2 separate regions of the Homo sapiens genome follow, and region 2 is linked to region 1. Evidence: promoter capture Hi-C in human tissues and cell types (Jung and others, 2019). All regions are on one chromosome and are shown on one strand. The core of a region is centred on a gene start or on the middle of the fragment in contact, and the rest is flanking DNA. Distances in the headings are between cores, read along the strand shown.

Region 1 (6,803 bases), core at 147-2,646:
TTGGATATTCATCACCTCAAACATTTACCATTTGTGTTGGGATACCTGAATCCCTGATGGCTCAACTTCCTTCATCATCGATTTGTTTACATGTCCATTTTCCCCACTAATCCGTGAGCTGCTGCTGCTCAAAAATGGATTTACTAACATTTATATATTTAGCATAGAGCATAGAATCTGAATTGCAAATTCTGTCAAATCAATAAATAAATAAGGAAAACTCAAGGAAGAAACTAACAATCCCATCACATTGTACTTGGCCATCTTCCTGCCAAATCAAGAGAAGTATGTCAGTGATTTTCTAATAGTCACATATATGCAATCTGGGCTTCGAGGGTACCCTCTGTAATTCTTCCAGGCCTACTCCATTTTCCATAGAGTTTTTTTCCCAGAAGGCCTTCTTATAAAACTACGTTTGGAGAGTCGTAAGACTGGAGTGGAGGCGAGGCACTCACACATCTTGGGTTGTTAGCCCACCCTGCAATGAATTTAGGTGATTAAAATCTACACATTTTAACACTATGTTCTCAGACTAGTCTCAGACGGATAGAGGTCGAAAGAGAATTATGTAAGAGGTGAAAAAGATGTAAAGGTAATGAAAAGGACTAGATGAAGCTAAAAAGAGAAAAGCTAATGGGAGGGGTGGGAGAATGATGATGCTTTGGAGAAAGACCTAAATTTTAACCCTGGCTCAGACACTTAGAAACTCTATCACCTTGCGCAAGTTACCAGCTGTGCTCATCTTCTTATCTGTAAAATAAGCTTAAGATAATTCCTAACTCCTAGAGTTTTGCAGACTGAAGAAAATAATGCATAGTTTATTGCTGTTAATATTGGAAAGGAGAAGATCGTGAAGAAAACGATTGAGCGAGCGCTGGACCCATGACAATTACAATTTTAGGCACTTTCCTTTATTTCACTTAATTTTCCTGCGACCCTCTGCGCTGGTCGTGCGTCCGTTTTACTAAACAAAAAGCTGACGCCCAGACCCGACAAGCAACTCTACAAGGTCTCCCGGCCATAAGTGGCGAAGCCTGGATTTGAACCCGGGTCTACCATAGGATTCTGTGAAGCGAGAGGCCACCTTCCAATTCCGTTCCCGAAGTCCTTGAACCTCCAGGTACCCAGGGGCCTCTCCACCTCCATGGGGCCCCGAGGGTCACCTCCCCGAGTCCTGGGTCCCCATCCCTTACCTCTGGACGCACCACGACTCGAGGTGGCGTAGCGCCCGCTTATAAAGCCGCAACACCTTTTGCTGATGGGTCAGGTAGGGTCCCGACGCCAAGAACGCCATTACGGCGCTGACCTTCCCCGGCCGCGCGGAGAGCCGGGAAACTGCACGCCTGCTGCGGGTGACTGAGCGGGGCCAGCCGGAAGGGCGGAGTTGCCGGCGGCCACTTCCGCTTCCGCTGGGGAGGTCCTCCATGCGCAGTCATGAGTCGCTTCAAGTTTATCGGTAAGAGGAGCGTTTTCCACGCCCTTGGGTCTTTCTGACTTGTCCCGGGCGTCGGTCACCAAGGTCACAGGACCCAGGAATTGCGCCCTCCGGCATTGTAAGGGTTGAAAGGGCCGCTCAGTGGAGGAGGGCGCGGGGAGGTTTCTGGGTGCTGGTAATGCTCTGGTTCTTGATCTAGGTTCTGGATTCACGAGGGTGTATTTATTTGTAAAAATTAACAAGCCGTACAGTTATGATTTTTGTGCTGTTTTCAACATCTGTAATGTATTCAGTTTTTTAAGAAGAAAACTCCAAAAAGGCCAATCACTATGTTTCCATTCATCCCACGTGCACCTCCCGGCCCTTCCCCTCTGCCTTGGCGGAGAGGCTGACCGCTTCTGGGGACCAATTCACTCAAGCATTCATTCGTTCATATCATAGTTAGTGAGCGCCTCAAGTGGGCCTGGCACTGGCCTAGGAACACAGGGCACAAAGCTCCCAGTTGTACTGTCATCACCATCTGGTGGAGAAACTAGAAAACACAAGTAATGGGGAGAAAAACAAACTGTACTTGGCAAGTACAATGATCCAGTCGGCATCAGTAGAACGAGAGGGAGAATGCTGCGGGATTTAAATGGGCATGATCCTCGTTTTGTGGGGTTTCCAGCTACCTGAAGGTGGGAAATGACAGTGATCACACCTCTGCTTTAGCAAGGTAATCCTGATAGCTATTATGTAGGTTTTGTGGGAAATAGGGAGAGGTAGGGAAGCATTTCAAGAGCTTAAACTAGGGTAATGGAAAAGAGAGAGAAATGGAAGAGATGTGTGCAGCATTTAGCAGCTGAGTGTTCATGGCCGGTAGTAGAGAGTGAACAAAGATGACTCAGGGTTTGGAAAAGTACTTAAATATGAAATGGAAGCATGACTAGTTTGGCGGTGAAGAGAGGTACCCAGGTCCATTTGGATTAGGTTAAGTTTGAGATAATTATAGGACATCCAGGTAGAGATATCTGGGCAATTGGGAATGTGGTCTGGCAATCAAGAGATTAGGATTATACATTTAGATCTGAGAGTTATTTAAGCAGTATTTTTTTTTTTCAAAGACGTTGTGCTAAGTCCTGTGGAACTGTAAAATCTAGTGGTGCAGTTTTCAGACTGGAGACCTAAGACCTATGTACTGTACAGTCAAAAGCAAATGCAGGGGAGAATATGTTAAGTGCCAGGAAAAAGGTTTTGAAATTGCTGTGGGAAAGCCTGGAGTAGGGGTTTGGGGAGGGGTTGTCAAATAAGACATTGCCGTGTCTTAGCCTTTCCATCCTAACCTTTGATATAATTGATGAGGGAGATGGAATAAAGAGCCATGAAGTACTCCGTAAAGAAAGGCCACATAACTTTTTAAAAGTGTGTTTATGTTATACAACCAAATTCCTGCCTCAAGTTAATGTCTTAAATCCATCCTCCATGTAGACTCCATTTTGGTGTATCTAAAAATCAAATCAGCTAAATGTTTCTTTTGCTTCAAATCTTTCATTTACGCTCCTCAGGATAGCCTAAATGCTTACACACCATACAAAGCCCTTCTGTGGTCCAGTCCTGCCCACTTTTCTAGCCCATCCCTGGGCTGCTCTATAAACACTTGTGCATGCTGTTTGTTACCTCTGACAAGGTTTTAGAGTGGCAGTTTGGGGCCAAAATATTCCTCTGCCTACCAACTACCCTGTTGCCTGTCTGCCTACTCACTCCTTAAAACTTATACCACATTATTTATAATTAAATATGAGTATGCCTTTCCCACTAGATCAAACTCTTAAGGCAGATACTGGTATGGTATTTATATTTTTTTCCTAGGGGCGTAGTACAATGACTGTTTGGGAAAGTATGAATGAGTGGCTTTAGTGCTAAGGTGATAAGAAAATTAGTAAAGGGATTAGCATCAGATAAAATAAGCAAGAAAAGACTTCTTAAAGAAGGTGACTTTATTGGAATAAATAATTGAAATAAATTTTTTTCTGTATGGTTTCCTTTAGCCCCACTCTCCTAAAGTAACCATATTAAAAGTTTGAAGTATAGCCTTCCCTAATTTTTTAATAGATTGTTATACAGATTCATAAAAATACAACATATCAAGGTTTTTTTTTTTCCTTTTGAAACAGAAATGAGATCATATTATGCATTCTATCCTTGGTATATGACTTACTCTGATATTTAATCTTTCAGTTTGTGTCATTTAAAAAATTCTGCCCATGAATCGCTAGACTAATTTCTTAGCCTAATAATGAGTTCTGAACAATATTTTGAAAAACATCATATTAAATCCCTGGAACAAGCTTCACATGGGACAATTGCATGAAAAATTGAACCCATTTTATGAAAATTACCTTAGATTTTGGTTTAAGACAGCTGACCATTGTAATTCTTTCTACATTTCTCTCTTTTCTACTTGCATAACAAGTGGCTGCCCCTTAGAACTATACCCCAACAGTGGGGGTTTTTGTTTGTTTTGAGACAGGGTCTTGCTCTGTCACCTAGGCTGGAGTACAGTGGCTTAGATCATGGCTCCAGCATTGACCTCCTAGGCTCAAGTGATCTTCCTGCCTCATCCTCCCAAGTAGCTGAGACTAGAGGTGCTCACCACCATACCAGGCTAATTTTTTTTTGTAGACCACTGTGTCCTGCTATGTTGCTCAGGCTGGTCTTGAATTGCTGGCCTTAAGCAGTCCTTCCACCTCCGCCTCCCAAAGTTCTGGGATTACACGTGGAGCCACTGGCCAGCATGAGAATTTCTTTAGCCCAGCTTATACTCTCTTTTCTGTCTCCACAAGTGGAATTCTATTCCCTGGGTGTTATTTACAAACTCTTCCACTCTCAAAAATACTTCTACCTGTAACTATTATATGCCAGAATCTCTACTGCATTGATCTTAGACTACATAGTACACCAAAAAATGAGAAATATCTGTGCAAGAAGAAAATGCAAAATACAAACAACAGTGAAAATAAAAACATCATATTCCATTCCTGATATAGTTTAGATATTTGTCCCCTCCAAATCTCATGTTAAAATTTGCTCTCCAATGTTGAGGTGGTCCAGTGGGAGGTGTTTGGGTCACTTCCCAACATCCATCTCATGGGGGTGGATCCCTCATGAAAGGCTTGATGGCCTCCCTGTGGTAATGAGTTCACACTGGCTCCCCTTCCCTTTCCACCAGGATTGGAAGCTTACTGAGATCCTCCCAAAAGCAGATGTTGGTGTCATGCATCTTGTACAACCTGCAGAACCATGAGCCAAATACACCTCTTTTCTTTATAAATCACCCAGTCTCAGGTATTCCTTTATAGCAATGCAAAAGCAGATTAATACAGTTCCTCCAAATCACACATAACACCACCATGTCTATCTTTCCAGATCTTCTGTAGGCATACCAAACAAAATAAGATCATACTGAGGCTACTCTTTTGTGCTCTGCTTTTTTCAATCACAGTCTCCACCTTTCCATTTCAGGAAATGTTCATCTTAACTAGTACCAAAATCATACTCAAATTTTTCCTGTTGTTCCAAAAATGTCCCTTGGTGGTCATGTCCAAAATGGTATCCCATTTAGAGCCACACATTTGGTTGTTCCTTAAATTTTTGAATCAAGTGCAGAGGTTTGCAAACTTTTTCCTTAAAGGGCCATATAGTAAATATTTTAGACTTTGAGGGCCACGTGATCTCTATTGCAGCTATTCAACTCTGCCCTTTTGTGTACTGTGATGTAATAGTAAATACGTGTGTGTTCTCTGCTCCCATTTCTTTGTGCACAACTCCTGAAACCCTTGGAATCTCCTAAGTGCTAAGTGTCTTTTTGTATGCTGCTAAGATGACTGATGGCTGGGGGCTCCTGGATAGCCTCAGGATGGGGGTTTGCCTAGGAAAACCCATCATGTGATTAGAGAGTTGGAAGTTTCAGTCCCTCCCACCCACTCCCACTTCTGGGGAAGGGGAGAGAAACTGAAGGTTGAGTTGTTCACTAATGGCCAGTGATTTAATCAATCATACCTACATGGTGAAGCCTCTATAAAAACCCATACATGTCTCTATGTGTCTCTTCCACCTGGCCGTTTTTGAATGGCATCTTTTTACAATGAATGGGTAATAAGTAAAGTGCTTTCCTGAGTTCCGTGAGCTGCTCTAGCAAATGATCAAACCTGAGAAGGGGGTTGTGGGAACCTCTTATTGTAGCCAAGTTAGACAAGTTGTGGGTAACCTGGGAACCTACTGCTTGTAATTGGTATCTGAAATGGGGAGAGTCTTGTGGGACTGAGCCCTTGACCTCTGCGGTCTGATGTTATATCCAGGTAGATAGTGTGAGAATTGAGTTAAATTATAGGTCACCCAGCTGGTGTCAGAGAATTGGTTGTTGGGAGAGGAAACCCCACACATACCTGACGTCAGAAGTGAATCCTCACGCCTGTAATCCAAGCACTTTGGGAGGCCAAGGTGGGAGGACTGCTTGAGCCCGGGAGTTCAAGACCAGCCTGGGCAACAAAGTGAGACCCCATCTCTACTTAAAACAAACAAACAAAAAATTCAGAGTATTGTGAGTATGAGAATACTGTAGGAGAAAGCAGTTTGCATTTTTTCCTATCTCACACCTTGTCATTCAAAAGCAGGTGATAGACAGTATGTAAATAGGTGTGGCTATGTTCCAGTAAAACTTACGGTCACTGAAACTTGAAGTTCTTATAATTTTGATGTGTCACAAAATATTCTTTTGATTTTCTTCAACTATTTAAAAATGTAAAGTCATTCTTAGCTTAGAGGCAAACAAAAGTAGGCAGTGGCTTGTGGGCCTTAGTTTACCAATCCCTTGCTCTAGCGCATTTCTTTTTTTTTTTTTTTTTTTTTTTTTTTTTTTTTTGAGACGGAGTCTCGCTCTGTTGCCCAGGCTGGAGTGTAGTGGTGCAGTCTGGGCTCACTGCAAGCTCCGCCTCCCAGGTTCACGCCATTCTCCTGCCTCAGCCTCCCGAGTAGCTGGGACTACAGGCGCCCACTACCACGCCCGGCTAATTTTTTGTATTTTTAGTAGAGACGGGGTTTCACTGTGTTAGCCAGGATGGTCTCGATCTCCTGACCTCGTGATCCTCCTGCCTCAGCCTCCCAAAGTGCTGGGATTATAGGCGTGAGCCATCGCGCCCTGCCACACATTTCTTTTTTTAATGTCACTGACTTACCAAAGCAGCTGTGCTGGTTGTGCCTGTGAAATAAAAATAAAATTCTAAGCCCCCTAAACTGGCTGAACAGAACCCCCCTCGACCAAGTAGACCCCAGAAAAACATGAAAAACTAAGATTCCCAAACATGACAAGATGAGGGGTTGGTCCTGGTCT
Region 2 (6,997 bases), core at 572-3,071, 1.1 Mb before region 1:
AAGTCGGGAGGGTGGGGACCACATCACCACCCGGCTTATGGTTTCTTTTCTTTCAGGATAAAGTCCAGATCTCTTAACAAGGCTCACCAGGGCATTCAGGAACTGGGCTTCTTCCCAAGCCATAAATTGCCACCGTTGTGTCAGTTCACAACTCCTCATACTGTCTCTCACATCTAAGTCCTTCTTGCTGGGACGCTCGGGCCATGTTTTCCACTCCCCACTCCCACCCCTGACTCATTGTCAGGCAACATCCTATTTATTCATCCTTAAGTGCTGGACATCTCGCCCTCGCCCCAGGCAGATGCAGCCTCCCCTCCAGTGGGCTATTAGAGCCCCTCCACATTCAGCACCACACTGATCAAGCTGCCTGTGCTTGCTCACTTATGGCCTGCATCTCCCACAATGCTGGGAGCCTCATGGGGGTTGGGGCACATGATTTTTTTCCCCAGAGTTTAATGCAGCACCTGCAATATAGGAGGTGACAGCAAAGATTGACTGAATAAATGACCTAACAATGGGAAGAGGTGAGACATGAGGGAAGAGAGGAAACTTGGGTCCAGATTTTGAGTTGGGAGTTGGGGGCAAAGGAGCAGGACTTTGGATTTAATGTGTTTGATTTTCATTCTGCGGACAAGGAGGGGACTCCACGATGAGTTTGAGGAAGAAATATATCCTGCTTATCAGGTTGCAATGCACGAACATAGGGAGAGAGCAAGGCTGGAGACAGACAAATATGTTAGAAGGCTTTCGTGACGGTGCAGACAAGAAATGGGAAAGCAAGCACACTACTCATTTAAAGAACCCTTTAAAAAACCGAAAGCAGATGTTCAAAAGTACATCTTGGTTGTGACCTGAAGACTGGCAGCATTCCATGAGGCCAGACTTGACTGCTGTGGACCAGTCTGGGAAGGGCTGGGAAACTGTTCATAGGAGCTCTAAAGGAATCGACATGAATCAGTGGAAGCACTGGCAAAAGCACCCCTGGGAAACCGCCTATTATATGACTAAGGCTTTGAGAAATCTCTGGTGATGGCCTGGCAGAATGTTCGGCAGCTGAATCTGTCATTGAAAACCTAAGAGGGCTTCTGGGAGCGTGTGTATTACGGGCTGTGGGAATCCTGGGTCATAAAACTTTCGCCCAGCCGCTGGAGTGCCTGACTGGGCAATTAAGGAGGATTCTTTCAAGCAGATCAAAAGGCTCTGGTGAGGTGATCTCAGGAAGCTTCCTGCCCTCCCTGTGAGGAAGGTAGGAGTCGGGCCTCATTATCATCATTTTACAGATGAGAAAAGTAGGTTCCCTGGTGACTAAGTCCCTTGCCTGAAGTCAAACAGCCAGCAAAGGGTGGGACCCAAAAATAAGCATATCAGTCACCTGACTCACAGGACATCGTTGCTCCAGAGCTCCCATCCCACAGAAGATGGCCTGTTCTTGGGAAGTCTGAGCCGCATTTGGAATGTTAGGGCACGAGGTGGTCTGCAGGGGCTATCTCAACCACTTGACACACACGGATACTTCCACACACACCCAGAGACTTGGCATCAGCTTTCTGCAACATCAAATGTCTTGACAGTCTTCTCACATTAGCCATTTTATGAAACCAAAGACCTCAACTTAAAAATCACAATGCAGTTCACCCCTTGGCCCACCTATAGGCAAAGCATTTCAGAAGGCATACACAATTGTAGCAGTCATCTTATGGAACTTTTCCCCAGGTTCGTAGAGTTGTGCCTGGCTTCAAATGGCTGTTCTACCCCTCACTATTCCCAGGACATTTGCAAGTTACTTAACCTCTCTGAGTCTCAGATCCCACATATGTGAATTGGAAATATGTAGGCTACCTCTCTTACTGTGTTGTTGGAAGGATTCAGTGAGGTCTGGAATGTAAAGTATATGGTACAGTGCCTAACATGTAGTCATCAATAAAAAACATTAGCAATTATTAATCACACTGATTATACAAGTGACCCAAGTACAAAATGTAATTCTATGTTTTCTTTCTGTTCACAGTCTGGCTACTAAGGAATTAAGTCAAATCTTAATATTTAACCAGTTCCCTCCCTTCCAGGCCAAGGAAATTTATTTTTACTCTTAATCTCAACCACCTGCCATGTTTTACAGAGGAGGTAATTACCCTTAGTGCAAAGGATACTTGTTATAGGAAGACTCTAAGAGTCTCAGAGATGGGTCTAGCTTGTGATGGCTTCAGAATCTCCTCTGGAGCCCTGCCTTGGGCCTTCTTAGTCTTGTCACTGCTGTCTGGTCATCAACAGGTCCAGCATCCAACCAACTAAAGGTAGCCAACAAAGAAAGGCCAAAGGCTAGTTCCCAGTTGCAAGATGACATATACTTCTTTGGTTGTGACTCCAACAGCATCCTTGAGTTGCACAGTGTCTCCTGACCTGGAAGACCATCCCTCCAAATGAGCCCTGGTCATCCAATGTGCTTGAAGAGGCATGTCCTATTATAGGCTGTTATTCTTTTTGAATATTATGGCTGCACTACATGCACATCACTGTTCTGTGCTCATCCCATTAGCACATCCCACAGGTCACCTGCAGTTGGGTGACAGCTCCTGTATACTCCTCCACCTTCTTACTCTAAGTTCCTACATCTCTTGGACTGTGGTCTTTATCTGCCACAGGAATGCACTTGGCCCTCTCTCAGGGCAGACCAGGGAGATAATGCTTCCAACTAATAAAGGACAAGCATTAGTAGATAAATGCCCTAGTGGCCTCAGCCCCAAGTGGACAATTCTGAGATATGTCCCATTCTGTTTCTCAATGGAGTTCTCAGCACAGTTGAGTCTCAGATGAGTGCAGCAGCAGCTACTCAGTCATGCACCCTTTACTGGCGGCCTCCTGCCTTCCTTGACTCCCTTCCTCACTCCCCTACCAGAGCCTCCTAGTATCACCTCCAAATTAACTGCTGGCACCCAAGTCCTTGTCTGGGATCTGCTTTTGGGAAAGCCCAAACCAAAAAAATAAAAATAAAAATAATTCAATAAAAATAGCCTTTCTTTAAAAACGGCATAAATAATTTAACTAATACAACTATATTAAATAGACATTGGCACTGAAATACAATATGGAACAAAACTGACAAGCATGAAACCTCTTGCTTGTAGTGCTCTCTCTCAACAGAGCGTAGTGCTCTCTCTCAACAGAACAACTACCACTGAAATCTTCCAGGACTTTTTCCAATCACACCCCAAACTCCTGCGTTCCCATAATCTCCCAGGTATTGAAGACTTCCACCTTATTCCTGGGTTTTCCAAGGGCTTTATTGCCTGTTAGGGGCCAGGATTACGATGAGACCAATGAAGTCAGGTTGTACAAATCCAAGGCTAGAGCCAGTCTTTATTTAAAAGTTTGACAATTTGTTCATCATCTTTTGGCAGTGATTTTGAATTTTAAATCATTGCTTTAAAATTTAATTTATCTTGATTACTGAGGTTTTCAGCATCCCTTAAATTTAGCACCCAAAGTTAGTGCCTCACTCACCTCATATTATCCCCAGCCATAAATATGAAGTGAGTCCTACAAGAGCCCATAGCCAGCTAGTGTGAAGCTCTCCAAAACCAATTAATTAGACTCCTCAGGGCCAAGATGGAGCTGTTCATTGGTTCATTCAATGTCAACTTACTACTATACTCTTTGATCCTTTTCCTTCCAGCTCCCAAACTTAAAGGCAAAAAATAGATCAGAGTACTCTGTAATTTTTTTCCTGCATGATCCTCAGAAAATATTTGCTTACCTGAGGCAAGGCATGTTCTCAATAACTTATTCAATGAGTGTCCTTCTCATCCTAGATGTACACCTCATCTCCATCAAAAAGGGTGCCCTTTACTTAGCTCTGCAGATGTTACATGTTTAAAACACTGGCTAAGAGGGCTCCAGTAAGCCTATTTTCCACTAAGACTTTTTAAATTTAACTTTGGGAGTTTTGTCCTGAAAAATGTGTAAGTATTTGGAATCTATAAAAACAGTTTTGTTGTTTTGGTTGTTGCTGTTGTTGTTGTTGTTGTTTTAGACGGAGTCTCATTGTTGCCCAGGCTGGAGTGCAGCAGCGCAATCTTTGGTCACTGCAACCTCCACCTCCCAGGTTCAAGTGATTCTCCTGTCTCAGCCTCCTAAGTAGCTGAGACTACAGGCACCTGCCACCACGTCTGGCTAATTTTTTTGTATTTTTAGTAGAGATGGGTTTCATCATGTTGGCCAGGTTGGTTTCGAACTCCTGACCTCAGGTGATCTGCCCGCCTCAGCCTCCCAAAGTGCTAGGATTACAGACATGAGCCACCACGCCCAGCCCAAAGACAATTTTTAAACAAAATTATTTCACCTAATGTGCTGTATCTTGAGTGTTTTTTAAATTTTCACATGTGCCTTATAGTGGATGTATTTTCTTTTTGGTTTTCGATTTTTTTTTTTTTCTATTGCCGTGTAACACATTGCCACAAACGTAGAAGTTTAAAACAACAGTCATTTATTTTCTCACAATTTCTGCGGGTTAGGAGTTTCGCATGGCTTAAGTGGGTTTTCCAATTAGGGTCTCATCTGGCTATGGCTCAAGTATCGGGCAGGCTGCATCCTCATCTGGAAACTTAACTGGGGAAAAATCAACTTCCAAGCTCATTCAGGTTGTTGGCAGAATTCATTTCCTTGTGGCTCTCTTAGTGAGGGTCCTGGCTTTTTTCTGACTGTTGGCTAGAAGCCGTCCTCAGGTCCTAGAGGCCCCCACAGTTCCCCATCATGCAGGCCTCCCCAACATGGTTGCTTGTTTCATCCAGCCCACAAGGAGAGTCTCTGATACAGAATCTGATATAACATAACTCAATCACAAGAGTGACATTCCATCCCCCTTGCCATATTCTGTGGGCTAGGAGCAAGTCACAGTTCCTCAGGCAATCGACAGAAGGAGATTATACAACAGCATGAACACCGGGAGGTAAGGATCATAGAGGCCACCTTGAAGTAGGTGCCACAATAAGAGTCTCTGCCTTAACTTTAGCAACTGTCACATTCTCTGCCAGAATACCCTCATCTCATACCCTCCCATTCCACCACTAGAAGGCACAAATACAGCTCACCACCACCAACTATACAATTTCTTTGCAGTCACATATTTTTACCTTAGAAATTCTTGTGACATTTGCATTTGCATTTATTCTATAATGTATCCCAACATGTTTTTATATAAGAATTTATTTAATATTTACTGGTCAGATAGTTTAACTCTTCATGTCTTCAAATGGAAACAAAGCTTAGGAAGATGTGCCATGTTTTTTCATATGCAACTGTGTACTTCTGTTGGAGGACAGTTTAAACTGTATTTATCCTAGTTTTCAAATCCCTTAAAGTTTGCCTGGAAGACCTATAGGGTGGACCTATAAGAATCTATTTGCATAAGTCATTAAGCCTCCTGGGAAGAAATGCATTCTAAGGAAAAGTTACCCAAACTTTGTTGATTTTTTCACATTTTACAACATGTATGATATGTTCTGCATTTGAAAACCACCTGTACTTAATACTTTTAATTAACTCCTTTTTTAAAATTTACCCTCTTCTTTAACAAAAACAATAACCTACACTTTTCCTAGTACACTTTAAAATAAAGTGGCTAATGACTAAATGTTTTATTTTTTTGTTTTTGTTTTTGTTTGTTGAGATAGGGTCTTGCTCTACTGCTCAGGCTGGAGTGCAGTGGTGCGATCATGGCTCACTGCAGCCTTGATCTCTCAGGCTCAAACAATCCTCCGGCCTCAGCCTCCCAAGTGGCTGGGACTACTGGTGCATGCCACCAAGCCTGGCTAATTTTTTTTTTTTTTTACTTTATGTGGAGACAGGGTCTCACCATGTTGCCCAGGCTTATCTTGAACTCCTGGTCTCAAGTGACCCTCTTGCCTCAGCCTCCCAAAGTGCTGGGATCACAGGTGTGAGCCACCACGCCCAACCTGACTAAATGTTTTAATCATAATTTGCTTAACATCAAAATTCATTTCACCCCCACCCCAGCCACCTGTGGTAAGCAGCCTCTAAGATGATCCCCAATGATTCCTGGCCCCTTGTTATTCACAGCCTTGTGTAACCTGCTTCAGAGTGTGAGCTGGACCTAGTTACTAGTTTCTAATCAATAGATTTTGGCACAAGGGATGATACATCACTTGAAGAATAGGTTATAAAAGACTGTGACTTGTGTCTTGTTTGCCTTCTGCCTCGCCCTATCACTTGTTCATTACAACAAAGCCAGCGCCATATTGGGAGATACTCTATGGAGAGATCCATGTGGAAAGAAACTGAGGAAATCTTCTAGCCAGTAGCTCCTGAGGCACAGAGACCCTCGGCACAACAGCCGGCAAGAAACTGAGTCCTACCCCCACCAACCCCAGGATGCTGGGAAGCAGCCCCTGCCCTATGCAGCCTTGCCATGACCACAGCTTTGGGAAAGACCCAGAGCCCAGAGACCCAGTTAAGCCTCTCCTGGATTGCTGACCTTAAAAACTGTGAGACACTAAATGATGCTGTTTTAAGCTGCTAAGTGTTGGGGTAATTTGTTACATGGCAATAGATAACTAATACAGCCTCGACCAATGGTCAGTGCCCCACACTTTAGAGAACACCATCCTAAAGGGACCATGTTCCAGTGGGACACTATTCCAGTGTAGTAAGTGGAGCAATCATGGAAAGTAGAGGGACAAGTTGAGTGCAACGGCTCAGACGTGTCCAGATACGCTTCTTTACCTCTGCCTTGGAGCTTGTTCCAGAACCTGTGAGGGTGAATGCTGAAACAGAAAAAAAAAAAAAAAAAAGAATTACTTTTTATTAAAATCTCCTTGAGTTACTGGGAGGCAGCGTGGCCCTGCTTTGGGGCAAATGTAAGTAAACAAGATGCAAAAAGACAGAGGCATCGGGTCAGGATGGATCACAAGGTGACACTGGATGAATGTGGGATCCCCAGTGCAGACACCAGCCACACCAACCTTGGCAAGAGCCTCCAAAG

The links. The method cuts DNA at HindIII sites, captures the fragments that hold promoters and counts their contacts. A contact is called where the count stands out against the background at its distance.
Region 2: a fragment that was not itself captured here is called in contact with the fragment with the promoter of TATDN1 in region 1 in 1 of the 25 tissues and cell types used here (small bowel).

Annotation. Positions count from the first base shown.
Region 1 is chr8:124,533,678-124,540,480 of GRCh38, reverse strand. TATDN1 (TatD DNase domain containing 1) reads left to right here and starts at 1,396. Exons shown (of 12, transcript NM_032026.4): 1 at 1,396-1,456. The coding sequence starts at 1,435. NDUFB9 (NADH:ubiquinone oxidoreductase subunit B9) reads right to left here and starts at 1,358. Exons shown (of 4, transcript NM_005005.3): 1 at 1,194-1,358. The coding sequence starts at 1,294. RefSeq lists an enhancer at 1,466-1,535. The HindIII fragment of the contact is 5,555 bases long and covers 1-4,207 here.
Region 2 is chr8:125,650,015-125,657,011 of GRCh38, reverse strand. LINC02964 (long intergenic non-protein coding RNA 2964) reads right to left here. Exons shown (of 7, transcript XR_001746072.2): 6 at 6,739-6,779. Among named protein-coding and RNA genes, the nearest start is that of LINC02964, 130 kb to the right of the region's middle. RefSeq lists an enhancer at 712-1,911. The HindIII fragment of the contact is 8,617 bases long and covers 1-6,129 here.